3 separate regions of the Homo sapiens genome follow, and all the other regions are linked to region 3. Evidence: promoter capture Hi-C in 16 types of primary human blood cells and fetal thymus (Javierre and others, 2016). All regions are on one chromosome and are shown on one strand. The core of a region is centred on a gene start or on the middle of the fragment in contact, and the rest is flanking DNA. Distances in the headings are between cores, read along the strand shown.

What was found. Contacts are between HindIII fragments. The CHiCAGO score rates a contact against its expected background, and 5 or more counts as called.
Region 1: a contact is called between a fragment that was not itself captured here and the fragment with the promoter of FANCB in region 3, in 1 of 17 cell types (total B cells). The highest score is 5.1, in total B cells.
Region 2: a fragment that was not itself captured here is called in contact with the fragment with the promoter of FANCB in region 3 in 2 of 17 cell types (M0 macrophages and total B cells); the score reaches 5.5 in M0 macrophages.

The regions. Positions count from the first base shown.
Region 1 is chrX:14,013,071-14,017,273 of GRCh38, reverse strand. The region is part of intron 4 of GEMIN8 (gem nuclear organelle associated protein 8); the gene reads left to right. Among named protein-coding and RNA genes, the nearest start is that of GEMIN8, 15 kb to the left of the region's middle. The HindIII fragment of the contact is 318 bases long and covers 1,888-2,205 here.
Region 2 is chrX:14,037,324-14,041,323 of GRCh38, reverse strand. No RefSeq gene overlaps it. Among named protein-coding and RNA genes, the nearest start is that of GEMIN8, 9.4 kb to the right of the region's middle. The HindIII fragment of the contact is 7,534 bases long and covers 1-4,000 here.
Region 3 is chrX:14,871,128-14,874,758 of GRCh38, reverse strand. It overlaps FANCB (FA complementation group B), which reads left to right and starts at 1,690. Exons shown (of 10, transcript NM_001018113.3): 1 at 1,690-1,773. MOSPD2 (motile sperm domain containing 2) reads right to left here and starts at 1,338. Exons shown (of 15, transcript NM_152581.4): 1 at 1,222-1,338; 2 at 1,001-1,070. The coding sequence starts at 1,230. RefSeq lists a silencer at 1,371-1,600. The HindIII fragment of the contact is 4,870 bases long and covers 95-3,631 here.

The DNA.
Region 1 (4,203 bases), core at 797-3,296, 860 kb after region 3:
AGTGTATGGAGGCAGCTGTGGCAGAACTGCTTGAATCACAGAGGTCCAGCCTCACTCTACCACTCGCTGATTAGAGGTTCTCGTCCTCCTGTAAGCCCCCTGCCTTCACCATTCTTTGCCTCAGTTGCCTCACCTATGAAATAGGATCCTAATTAGTGGGTAGTAATTATGAAGAATCCCTAATGGGTAGTAATTGTGAAGAATCCATGAGATAATATGAGAAAAGTTATAGAATGGTGCTTGGTACCAAGTTGGTGCCCAATAAATGTTATTGTTACAGTTAGTTGCTAGTAACCCATCCTTTAACATGGATTATTAACCATAAATTGGTTTTTCTCTGATACCGTTTGCCTTGATTAGTGCTTGATTGAGATTCTGTACATATATATATATATATATATATATATTTTTTTTTTTTTTTTTTTTTTTGAGACAGATTCTTACTCTGTCACCCAGGCTAGAGTACAGTGGCGCCATCTCAGCTCACTACAACCTATGCCTCCCGGGTTCAAGTGATTCTCCTGCCTCGGCCTCCCAAGTAGCTGGGATTTCAGGCGCCAACCACCACACCCAGCTAATTTTTTTATTAGTAGTAGAGATGGTGTTTCACCATGTTGTCCAGAGTGGTCTTGAACTCCTGACCTCAGGTGATCCACCTGCCTCGGCCTCCCAAAGTGCTGGATTATAGGCATGAGCTACCGCGCCCAGCTAAGATTCTGCATATTTTTAATAAGATGTTCTGTGACTTCAGAAAGGTCATATTTCTGCTCTGGGTGGCACCTTTCAAACTTTTAAACTGATTTAGAATATTAAAGACATGAAAGAATGAAAGTTTTGGTGTCTATCAAATTTAGCAATTAACACAGTTTTTAGTTCTGTTTCAAGGATATTCTTGCTTGATAAAATTTAATGCAGTAAAGTACATGGACTGGGAAAATTAACCCACTTCAATATTACTAATAATGTCCCTAAACAAGCTTTCAATTCTTTGTATTTTTAAAATGTGTAGTTACAGCATGATTCAAAACTACTTTTCTTAGCGTCTGTGTCATGCTCCTACAGCCTTCCCTGAATGCATTAGCTGGTCCCAGGGAGATGTGAGAATTGTCTGGTGAGGGTGAGAACAGACTGTGGTGTCAGACTGGAATCTAAAGACTTCGTCTATATTAGAAGCAGCTGCCAGGGCCCGATCTTGCACCAGTAAGAAAATAATGGGCAATAGATCACTAGCATTATTTTTTTCAGCAGCACTTTTGGTGAGTACAGGATGAACAACTGTTCTTCAAGCGGTAATGAATGATGGAATTCATATGTAAGTAATCTGAGTGCCCATGGCGCTTTCCAATTCATTACCTTCACCAGAAATTTTCATGGAGGGTTAGTTACATACACTGTTGGAAAAAGCTTTAATAAAGAGATAAGGGACCTGGGTAGTATGAATAATTGGTTCAAGTTTTTTGTTTCATTTTGCTCTCAAAACCACTAGAAGCTACTTATTCAATAAGGACATTTTCAGCTTTGAACATGAATGCTTTGAAGAACACAGGATTTTAGAAAATGTTACTAGCAAGAGGAAATGTCACTAAATTTGAAAGATTTAACTTTTCAGTATTATTCACTTCCACAGGAACATACAAGTTATGCAATTCATCATCGCCTGAGTCTTGTTTAATATTTTCTTAGGATAAAGGCCTTCAGATTGGACAGTATGTTCTTTTTTGTGATTGCTACTCAGATTCCAGATAGTCTCTACTTTAACATATTTCAAGGATAAAAAACACCAAAAGCTTGACTAGGATAAGAACTCCTTTTGTACAGTGGGAACATGCATGCTTTTGATTATGTCTGTCATCATTTCCTAACAAGATATTTCCGTTACTTAAAGCTTCAATGGAAAATAACTTATGAGAAAGTTTACAGTTATGAAGTTTTAAAGGTCAGCTGTGTTTTCAATTATTTCTTAGGAAAAATGTTTATTATTAGGTTAAGAAAAATACCATTTTGTAGTCATAAGTGACCACTGGTCGAGACTGCAAGGTTATATTGCTAATACTTAGAGGGAAAATGAGTGGAAGTCACCCTCAAAAGAGAGTAAGGCCCTCTGAAACAAACACCACCACTGTTTTCTCGGGTTTGAGCCAATCAGGTATTTATGACCTATGTTTTGAGGGTGTTGGCTCAAAACAGGGACATATTCTAAAAGCTTAAACCCCATTGGGAAGAGGAGACAAAATGAAATGTAAAGTGACACATAGAAGAAGAGTGTCTATGGTGTGGTTCATGGTTATACATGCACATGAGGGGTAGAGCCAGTGACCCAGGCAGTCAAAGGAGGAGCACCGCGGGGCAGCTGTCAAGAAGTAAGGTATGCACTAGGCCAATTTGAGGGATAGGGTCAATTTGGAATGAGAGAAAAAAGGACTTAGTTCACTCCCGGCTTAGACACTCAAAGTGCTGTTCTTACCAGAGAGCCCAGATGTGGTTTTCATATGCCCAGATGTGGTTTTCATACGTTTGAGGGGAGACATCTGCTCCATTACACTGTGTCCATCTGAGTGGGAAGGCTGAGACTGTAGTTTTCATAGTGAGCCTTTAGTCAGTCAAACCTAGAGAGAACCCGGTGAAGTTTATGGCCCAGTATTTAGTGAGCTGTCTTGCTTTAGTCAATGAGGTTGAAGGATGAAATTGCAGTGATTGAGCACAATCCTGACATGCGTGTGTGTTTCATCTGGTGCAGATATTCACAGGTGCACAAAACCGATCAGTGAGATGATACGTGTTAATGGCTGTAGAAAAGTGGAAAGGAACATGAAAATGCACTTCTGTTGTAAAAGTAAAAATGGCGGTTGTCCAGTAACTTCAGGATTACATTTGTCATGGGGCAAGGGATGTGCGACGAAGAGAGAAGACCAGTCTGAAATGGCTCCAGTTCTGCTGGCATGTACCTGTGTTCTGGGTGGTTGCTGACAAGCCAGAAATGAGGCATTCATGGCATACATCAAGTTTGTGCTTTCCCTCGGTTGTGCTACAATTATTCATTTTGGCAAAATAGCAGAAAATATAATCAGAAAGATGTACTAGTCCTAGGAAAGTGAGGGGAAAAAACATTCTTTGCCACTTGCTGCCTCCATGCTTTATCCTCTAACATGTTCTGCCTTTGGGCTCTATGTGTGGAATAATCTTGGATGAAAGTTTTCCTGCTATATAAGATTCTCTGAAGTCCTGGTAACTTTCCATGATTTTTTTTTTCCTTTATGGACTATTACGTGATGTGACATTGGTCACATCATGTAGACAAATAGATTGATGTGAAAAATACCAGGATTATGTATCCTGAACCCAGATGGAATCCAGTAAAGCTTTTCCTTAATAATACATGCCTATTGTTCTTGTTTTAACCTATATGCATATTAACCCTTGTATTAGCCTCCCAGGGCTGCTGTAACAAATTACACAACCTGGGTGGATTAAAAAAAAAAAAAAAACAGATTTATTCTCTCACAGTTCTCAAATCAAGCGGTCAACAGGACCACACGCCCTCTGAAGGCTGTAGGGCCTCACCTCTTCCAACTTCTGGTGTTTCCTGGTGTTCCTTGGCTTGTGGCAGCATCATTCCATCTCTGCCTCCATCTTCATGTGGCCTTTCCCCTGTGTCTGTGTGTCCTTTTCTGTCTCATACAAGGACTTTGTCATTGGAGTTAGGGTCCACCCTAATCCAGTATGATCTCATCTTGATCCTTTAATTACATCTACAAAGCCCTATTTCCAAATAAGGTCACCTTCTGTGGTTCCAGGTGGACATGGATTTGAAGTGACACTATTCAACCCACTACAATCCTATTTTGAAGCTGGAATAGAATCAAAAAAGATTTCTGATTCATATTAAAACAAATTATCTTGCCAAAATACCCTATAAAAGTGTATGGCAACATTGAGTCCTACAGCTGTTTCCAATAAAAATGACCAAACCCTCCATGACAAGGCAACTGTTCATTGGCATCTGAAGTGTGATGTCCGTACTGGTCTGCTTTGGTCAGATGATTTTCCATCTGGCTGGCTGAGCGCTCACCTTGTTTTGACAGCAAGGAAAACTGCCAGTGATTGAGAATCCGTTTTCGTTGGAAGGAAGGAAGGAAGCAATAAATAGAAAACAGAATGAGTGGATGCCTTCAAACTCTGATACTCCATTCTGAGGTTTACTTG
Region 2 (4,000 bases), core at 219-2,718, 830 kb after region 3:
CTAAAAGTGAGAAAAAGAACAAACAACAAAAAAAGAAAACATGTAAAAATAAGAACCAAGGAATCAAAACTCAAAAGAGATTTGATCATGCCATGTAGAGGCAAATAACCCTATATTTGTATTGCTCATTGCATTCTAGTGTGGGAGAGAAATTGACATTCATCATGGTAAGCCTGAGATATAAAGACAAGAATAAAATGTGCTCAGGAAACTGTTGGAGAAGACAGGAAAGTACACAATAGATTTTAGAAAGATTTCTAGTCAAAATGGTTTTGTTGTTGTTGTTTTTGTGTTTAGAGGAGTAAACATCAGTTAATGGGGAAAAGAAGATTCATAAGTCATTTAAATAGGCCACTTCTTTCCTAACAGACTGGACAAATTGGGCATTACTGTATTTCAAACAAAGCACGAAAAATCTCTTTAGAAGTGTCTCATTCTACAAATATACTATAACCGCAATAATGTGATTTAGGAGGGAAAGAGAGAGACACACACACAAAGACTGCTACTAACTCCTGGACAGGTTAGAAGTTATTACCATTCCATCTTTCTTGCCATTGTTCCCCAACCACATATATTCTCAACTTTTACATAGCTATTAGCATAATATATGATTTATTTTGCTTTGACTTGACTTATCATTCATCACATACTTTCCATGTGCCTATATAATATTCATAATTTTCATTTTGATGGCTGCCTAATAGTCCATGTTCCTAAATTGCTTTCAATTTTACCAATTATCAATAAACAATACTGCAATAAACACCTTCACATATACAGCTATTCTGTCCTTGTGTAGTTTTGGATTACTATCAAACAATAAATTCACCAAAGTGAAATTAGAAATATATCTAAATTAAGAAATGTATTTGAACAGTGACTTGCTTTACGAGGTTGTGGTGAAAATGAGGTTGTAATACCAGTCAAAGCCCTCCTCCCCAGATTAGCAGAAATTTAACTCCTCACTTGACTCTCCCCCACTTCCCTGAATTGCCCAAGAACCCAGAGATTCATTCAGTCAAACTCTTAGCAGAGGGAAAACTAGAGAATCTGACCACCGTCCAGTGGACACTTCTTGACGCCTGCTGTTGCTTCAGTTACTCAGTTACTCCTGTCCTATGGCACATGCATCTAATGAGTGGATATCATGGCTCTTAAACCATGAACTCACAACACCCATGTGTGAAGAGGGCCCCGTGGGCATCATTGTTCCTCTACTAACAGATGAAGATAGGCAGGCTCTGAGAAGTAGTGACACAACCAGGAAGGGACAAAGACAGACCTTCCATCCCTCGGACAGGGATTCATCCATTTCACCGTGCAAGCTCATCATGTACAAGATCCATGCCAAGAAAAATCTGACAGTATACAGGGACAGGACCTGATTTTTTTTCTTAATGTAGAAGGGTGATTCTGCACAGTATATGTAGTTGTGCTTCTATGTCAATGACCCATAAAATATCTTGTGAGGACAGAAAACATAACATACGTAAAATTATGCTCTAAAAAAGCCTTACACATTGTTGGCCTCAAATTATTTTAGCCAGTTGAAATGAAAATTATTTAGAGATTAATTTTAACCTAATTCGGATTTTGTTGAAGATGTAGTAACTTTAAAAACAATGTGAAAGAATAGAGCTGGAAACGCAGTAGTGAAATATCATCTAAAAACAATACACTATTGAATTTTAGATGTATAGAGTCATTTACATGTGACTGACATGTGTCACTACAGCCTATGACTGAGAGATTAATGCACTTCCTTTTAAAAGCATTTCTCCAATACTTTGTACAATTGTGCCCTCTGCCGGATGCACATGGGTATTATTTTACAGGGCTATACATAGGAAACAATGCTTTATAATCACATCTTTTTAAAGTAAAACTTTTCAATACTTGAATTCTGTGTATATTTCAGCAATTAGTTGGTTCTATCCCACACAAACTTCCTAATCCTCTTTTTAAATTACTGATAATCTCATTTACAGAAATCAAAACATTGTTAAAGATTAGCTCAGTACTGTTTAGTGCTGTCAGCTGAGTAAATTGTTACTTCTCAAAAAAGAACTCATAACTAAATATAAATATGGATAAATCTCTTGAAAGTTTCTCATATCTCAATAAAATGCATAATGAAACCATTTATTATCATATTTAAGTTTACAAATATCCACCCAATTATTGTCTCATTTCGTTTCATTATTTAAAAATATTTATTCCCATGTAGCATACTGGATTTCAATGATACACAACAAAATAATATGTGGTCTCAATTCTCAAGAATTTTATTATTAAATGGAAAATGGTGAGAAGTAAATGAACAACTGCAGAGTAGCACATGCCATGAACACTGGGATGTTCCAGATTCCCCTTCAATGAGGAACTTGCGGCTCCAGTCACAGAGAGCCTCCTTACGCAATGTCACACCCCTTTTCAGGAGCCCACATCCAATGACTGATCCATGCTGGAGAAAAAAGTGCCCACCATATCAGCCCAACTTTCTACAACTCAGAAGGGCCATTCTGGCTCCCTAAATCCCCTGGGGTTTACCACAGTTGTTAGGCACACATTCAAGCTCAGCCCTTCTCTCTACCCCAGTGGTTTTCAACTGAGGGCAATTTGCTATCCCCTCCTTCCCCACCACCAGCATATTTTGCAATGTCTGAAAACACTTTTGGTCATCACAACTGAAGGGGAGGGAGGTGTGTATGTGTGCTACTGGCATCTAGTGGGTAGAGCCCAGGGATACTGCTATGCATCCCATAGTGCACAGGACAGCCCCACAACAAAGTGTTACACCTAGTCTGAAATGTCTCTATGCCACAGTTGAAAAACCCTGTTCTATCCAATCTCGTGCTTTCCTTTCCCTTTCATAGGTGTTGGTCTGAGGTCATTCTTTTTTTTGGGGGGGGGTGTTTTGGTTTTGTTTTTCAACTTTTGTTTTAGATTTGGGGGTACACACGCAGGTTTGTTACAAATGTGTATTGCATGATGCTGAGGTTTGCAGTACAATTGAAACCATCACCCAGGAAGTGAGCATAGTACCTAACAGGTAGTATTTCAATCCTTTCTTCCCTCCATGTCTCCCTCCTCTTGTATTCCCTGGTGTCTATTGTTCCCATCTTTATGTCCATGTGTGTCCAATGTTTAGCTCTCACTTATAAGTGAGAACATGTGATATTTGGTTTTCCATTCCTGCATTAGTTCACTTAGGATAATCACCTCCATCTGCATCCATGTTTCTGCAAAGGACATAATTTCATTATTTGTTATGGCTGTGTAGTATTCCATGGCGCATATGTACCACATTTTCTTTATCCAATCCACCATTGATGGGCACTTGGGCTAATTCCATTTCTTTGCTATTGTGAATAGCACTGCAATGAACATACAGGTGCATGTGTCTTTTTGGTAGAATTTCTTTTCCTTTGAGTATATACCCAGTAATGGGATTGCTGGGTCGAACAGTAGTTCAACTCTCACTTCTTTGAGAAATCTCCAAACTGCTTTCCACGGTGGATGACCTAATTTACAGTCCCACAAGTAGTGTATAAGCATTCACTATTTTTTTTTTTTTTTTTTTTTTTTTTTTGGCGGCGGGGAGACGGATTCTCGCTCTGTCTCCCAGGCTGGAGTGCAGTGGCGCGATCTCGGCTCACTGCAACCTCTGCCTCCCGGGTTCAAGCGATTCTCCTGCTTCAGCCTCCTGAGTAGCTGGAACTACAGGCACGCACCACCACGCCCGGCTAATTTTTGCATTTTTAGTAGAGACGGGGTTTCACCATGTTGGCCAGGCTGGTCTCCAACTCCCAACCTCAGGTGATACGGCCGCCTCAGCCTCCCAAAGCACTTTCGCAGGCCCACCAGCATCTGTTTTTTGCCAAGGTCATTCTTTACCGAACATCCTGCACCCTAAACTCCATCAAAGAGTTGGCTTTCTGGGAAACAGTTACGATAGTATCCATAAGAAACCATTTGGTCTTATACGTGTGTATAA
Region 3 (3,631 bases), core at 441-2,940:
CCATATTTGTTCTATGTCATCAACTGATGTATAATCTAGGATGGTTTAAAGTTGCAGGGAACCTCTGCTGAGTACTAGTCAAGATGTAGAAGCTTAACTCCTTTCACAGTAACCAAAATGACAACTGAGGCAAAATATTCACTGAGAATCCACTATATTTTAAGACATGCTAGATGGTTTATGTTTTTTTAAAAAATTTAATCCTACTAACTTTATTATTTGCACTTCACAGATATGAAAACGGGCTCAGAATAGACAAGTAAGCTATGTAGTGGCAGGGTTAGGATTACAATCAATCTTAAGGTAGGCAACATATAAATCCTTATTTAATTCCATATTTACAATAAGTTATTCCGTATGTTTTACAAAATTACTGTACAAGCATTAAATATTCAGTTAAGTACCTGACAACTCAAGTATCTGTGACATCTGGACACAGAATGTTCAACCAATAAATCAATTCTGGACTCATAGGTACTTTGCAAGATACAGTTTGGGATAAGAACTTGTTCCAGCATTGGAGGGCCTATTTTGTGGGTAGCATGCTGGGTTGTATGAAAGCCAAATCAAACAAAATATCCAAGGAATTTGTATACCCAATTAAGTACACATCAATAGTATTATGGCAGTTTCCAGGTACATTTTCGCTAGTGTTGCTGGTGAAAGGCCAGCAGTGGAACCGTGGACTGGACAATGTCACCCGTGTTGTGGGCCTAACAAGTATCCTGCAAGTTCCATAAACACGAGGGCATGCTAAAAACTTAACCGATTTCCAACTTACATTAACCCTTTAAAGGGAGCATGGGACACACCACTTGACCATTTGAAGCAGTGCACACGGCTTGTCATGGAGAGGAAAACCTTTGAGACGTGCCCAGCATCATTCCTGTGAGGGTCGAAAGGGTCCCTAACACCTCCCACAAATACACTCACAAACACTCCAGCAAAGTTGGGGATGCTCACTGCACACCTTTCTTAATACCTGGAACAGAGTACCCACCTGTCACATACTCAGCTTCGAACCTCCTCCGGGTCTCAGAGATGAGCTTGGCTTTATTCTGGGCGTGATTCTGGATGGGAGACACGATGGGACCTTAGATACTACTTGCATCAACCCGCTTACCCTCAACCCAGCCCACCTGCACACGGGCGCTCGGTCCCCGGGCCTCAGAGGCGGCTTCCGGGTCCGGGGGGCCAGCGGCGGTGCAATAGGCTCCTCACCTCTGCCATGATCACCGTCGTGGATGTGATTGCGGTTGTCGCCGTCGCCCGTTCTACCGTCGCCGACCGAGTATCTCATCACCCGGCAGTCCCGCCCAGAGGTAGACAGAGAAGGGTGGGAGGGGGAGGCGGTCGCGTGACACCGGAAGGCGGACAGAAGCGCCGCCGCACCGCCCAATCCAATGCGGACGCCTGGGTCTGGAGGCGGGACCAGGCCCTCAGCCTAGGTCCCATTCGATTCTCGTCTGGCCTCGCCCCGCGACATCCCCCGCACTGCGGTCCCGCCCCCGCCAGCCGCGAGATCGCCGGCGCTTCCCCCGCGGAGCTCCGCCCTAGAGAGCTCGCGGGCTCTCTGCTTTCACAACACTCCCCAGGGCCCCGCCTCCTCAGCCTCCCTTGGCCACCTCTCCTGGCTGGCTTCTAGGCTCCGCCTCCTCTGCGTTCGACGCAGCCTCCGCCCGGCCTCCCAGGATGCAGCGCGCTGGCGGGAGGTTTGGAGCAGATGGATACCGTATCGACGTGGGGCCTCCGGTATGTTGCCGCTGCGTTGAGGTAGGATGGGGCTGGCGAGTCTTCCCTTCCCAGGACTTCGCAGAGGGGGCGATGGGGCTGGATTTCCTCCCCTTGTCCCCGCATTGCGGGAGAGAGGGAAGGAAGCGGGCATCCCGAGACCTGGGTCTGTCATTCCTTGCAATGATAATTGGATTTTAAGTGCTACATTCGCTTGAAGTTTTTTTCATCCCTTCAGTATCCTTCCAACTTGGAGTGTGAGATGCTTAATGAGCAAAATATCTCTGAAATCTTTAATCTCAAATAATTATATAAAGTTAAAAAAAGCGTGTTTCGGCTTATTAAGGTAGTTGTGTTCAGCCGGGGGGGTGGGGGGGTGTGTGTGGGGGGGGCGGTTTTACCACCCAGGGGACCTTTGGCAACCTCTGGAGACATTTTTAGTCACCACTGCTAGGGGCCGGGGGCAAAAGAGATGCTCACTGGCTACTAGTGGATAGAGACCAGGGAAGCTGCCAAACATCCTCCAGTGTACATGAAAATTCACAACAGTTATCCAGCCCAAAATGTCAATAGTGTCAAGGTTGAGAAAGATTTAGATTTAAAGGGACTGGAACAAATTTTATTCGTCAGTTAAAAACAATTGAAAGAAAATAGTTGCGCATACAATATTGCCTTTTTTAAAGTTGAAAGATACTGAAAACTACAAACAAGTTGTAAGAATAGTCCCCCATATTTCCATCAACCGTAGTCATCCATGACAGAATGGCATGTTAGCATCTTTTGTCCTAGACTTTTAAATATATTTACATTTTTTATGGGAAAAAATGAACACATTGTTTAAACGTTGTTTGACTACATCCTTAAAAGATATTTCAGATATAACTAAAGTCTCCTTCTACCTCTACTCACCTATCCTGGACACTTCCTTGTCCAGAATCAACAGCATTCAGAATTTGGCATGAAATGTTTACAGTTTTACATTTTTTTATTTTGGATCATACTGCCTGGGTTTGAATCCTGGCTCTGTCACTTCTTATCTGCAAGCCTTTGAGAAGATCCTGAAACTCCTTGCCTCAGTTTCTCCATCTATAAAATGGGATAGTAACAGTGCCTATGTCATAAGGATGTTGTGAGGAAGAAACGAGTTAATCCAAAGTGCTTAGAGCAGTACCTGGCACTGTTTCTTCAGGAAAAAAAAAAAAAATAGTACATGGCACTATTTCTTGAGAAAGCACTCAGGGACTGTAGTCATTGTAGGTAAATAGAACATATATAATGCTGTTTTATTTGTTTTACATAAATAATATGCTGCAGTGTACATTTGTCTGCAACTTAATTTTTAATTCATTTTATTTTTGAAATTTAACCATGATTATATATATATATACACACACACACACACACATATATAGATAGATAGATCTAATTCATTCCTTTTAACTCTTGTTTGATAGTCCATCTATACTCATTCCCCTATTGGTGTTCATTGAGGTTTTTACTTTTTTTATATTGCAAATATCAGCACAGTGAGCTTCTAGAGCAATGTATTCATTCATATGTGGGATTATGTCTCTGGGTTTATATCTACAAATGAAACTACTGGGTATATGCATTTCAGTTGACTGCCAAATTACCTTCAGAGTCATCTCTCCCTTTTATTTAAGTACTCATAATTTTCTTCTAATTGTTAGCTCTTTTTCCAGTCTGATCTCACTCACACCTTTAACACTGTCACCAGGATCTTCATAACTCAAAAGTACAGTCCTGTGATTTCTGTTTTTGAAGTCTTTCAGTGGGTTATCATTACTTATATGAGAAATTTATAAGTCCTTAATATGACATAAAAATCTTCTTTAGCGTAATCTTCCCAAATCCTCTAATTTAGTTGATCACGATTCTC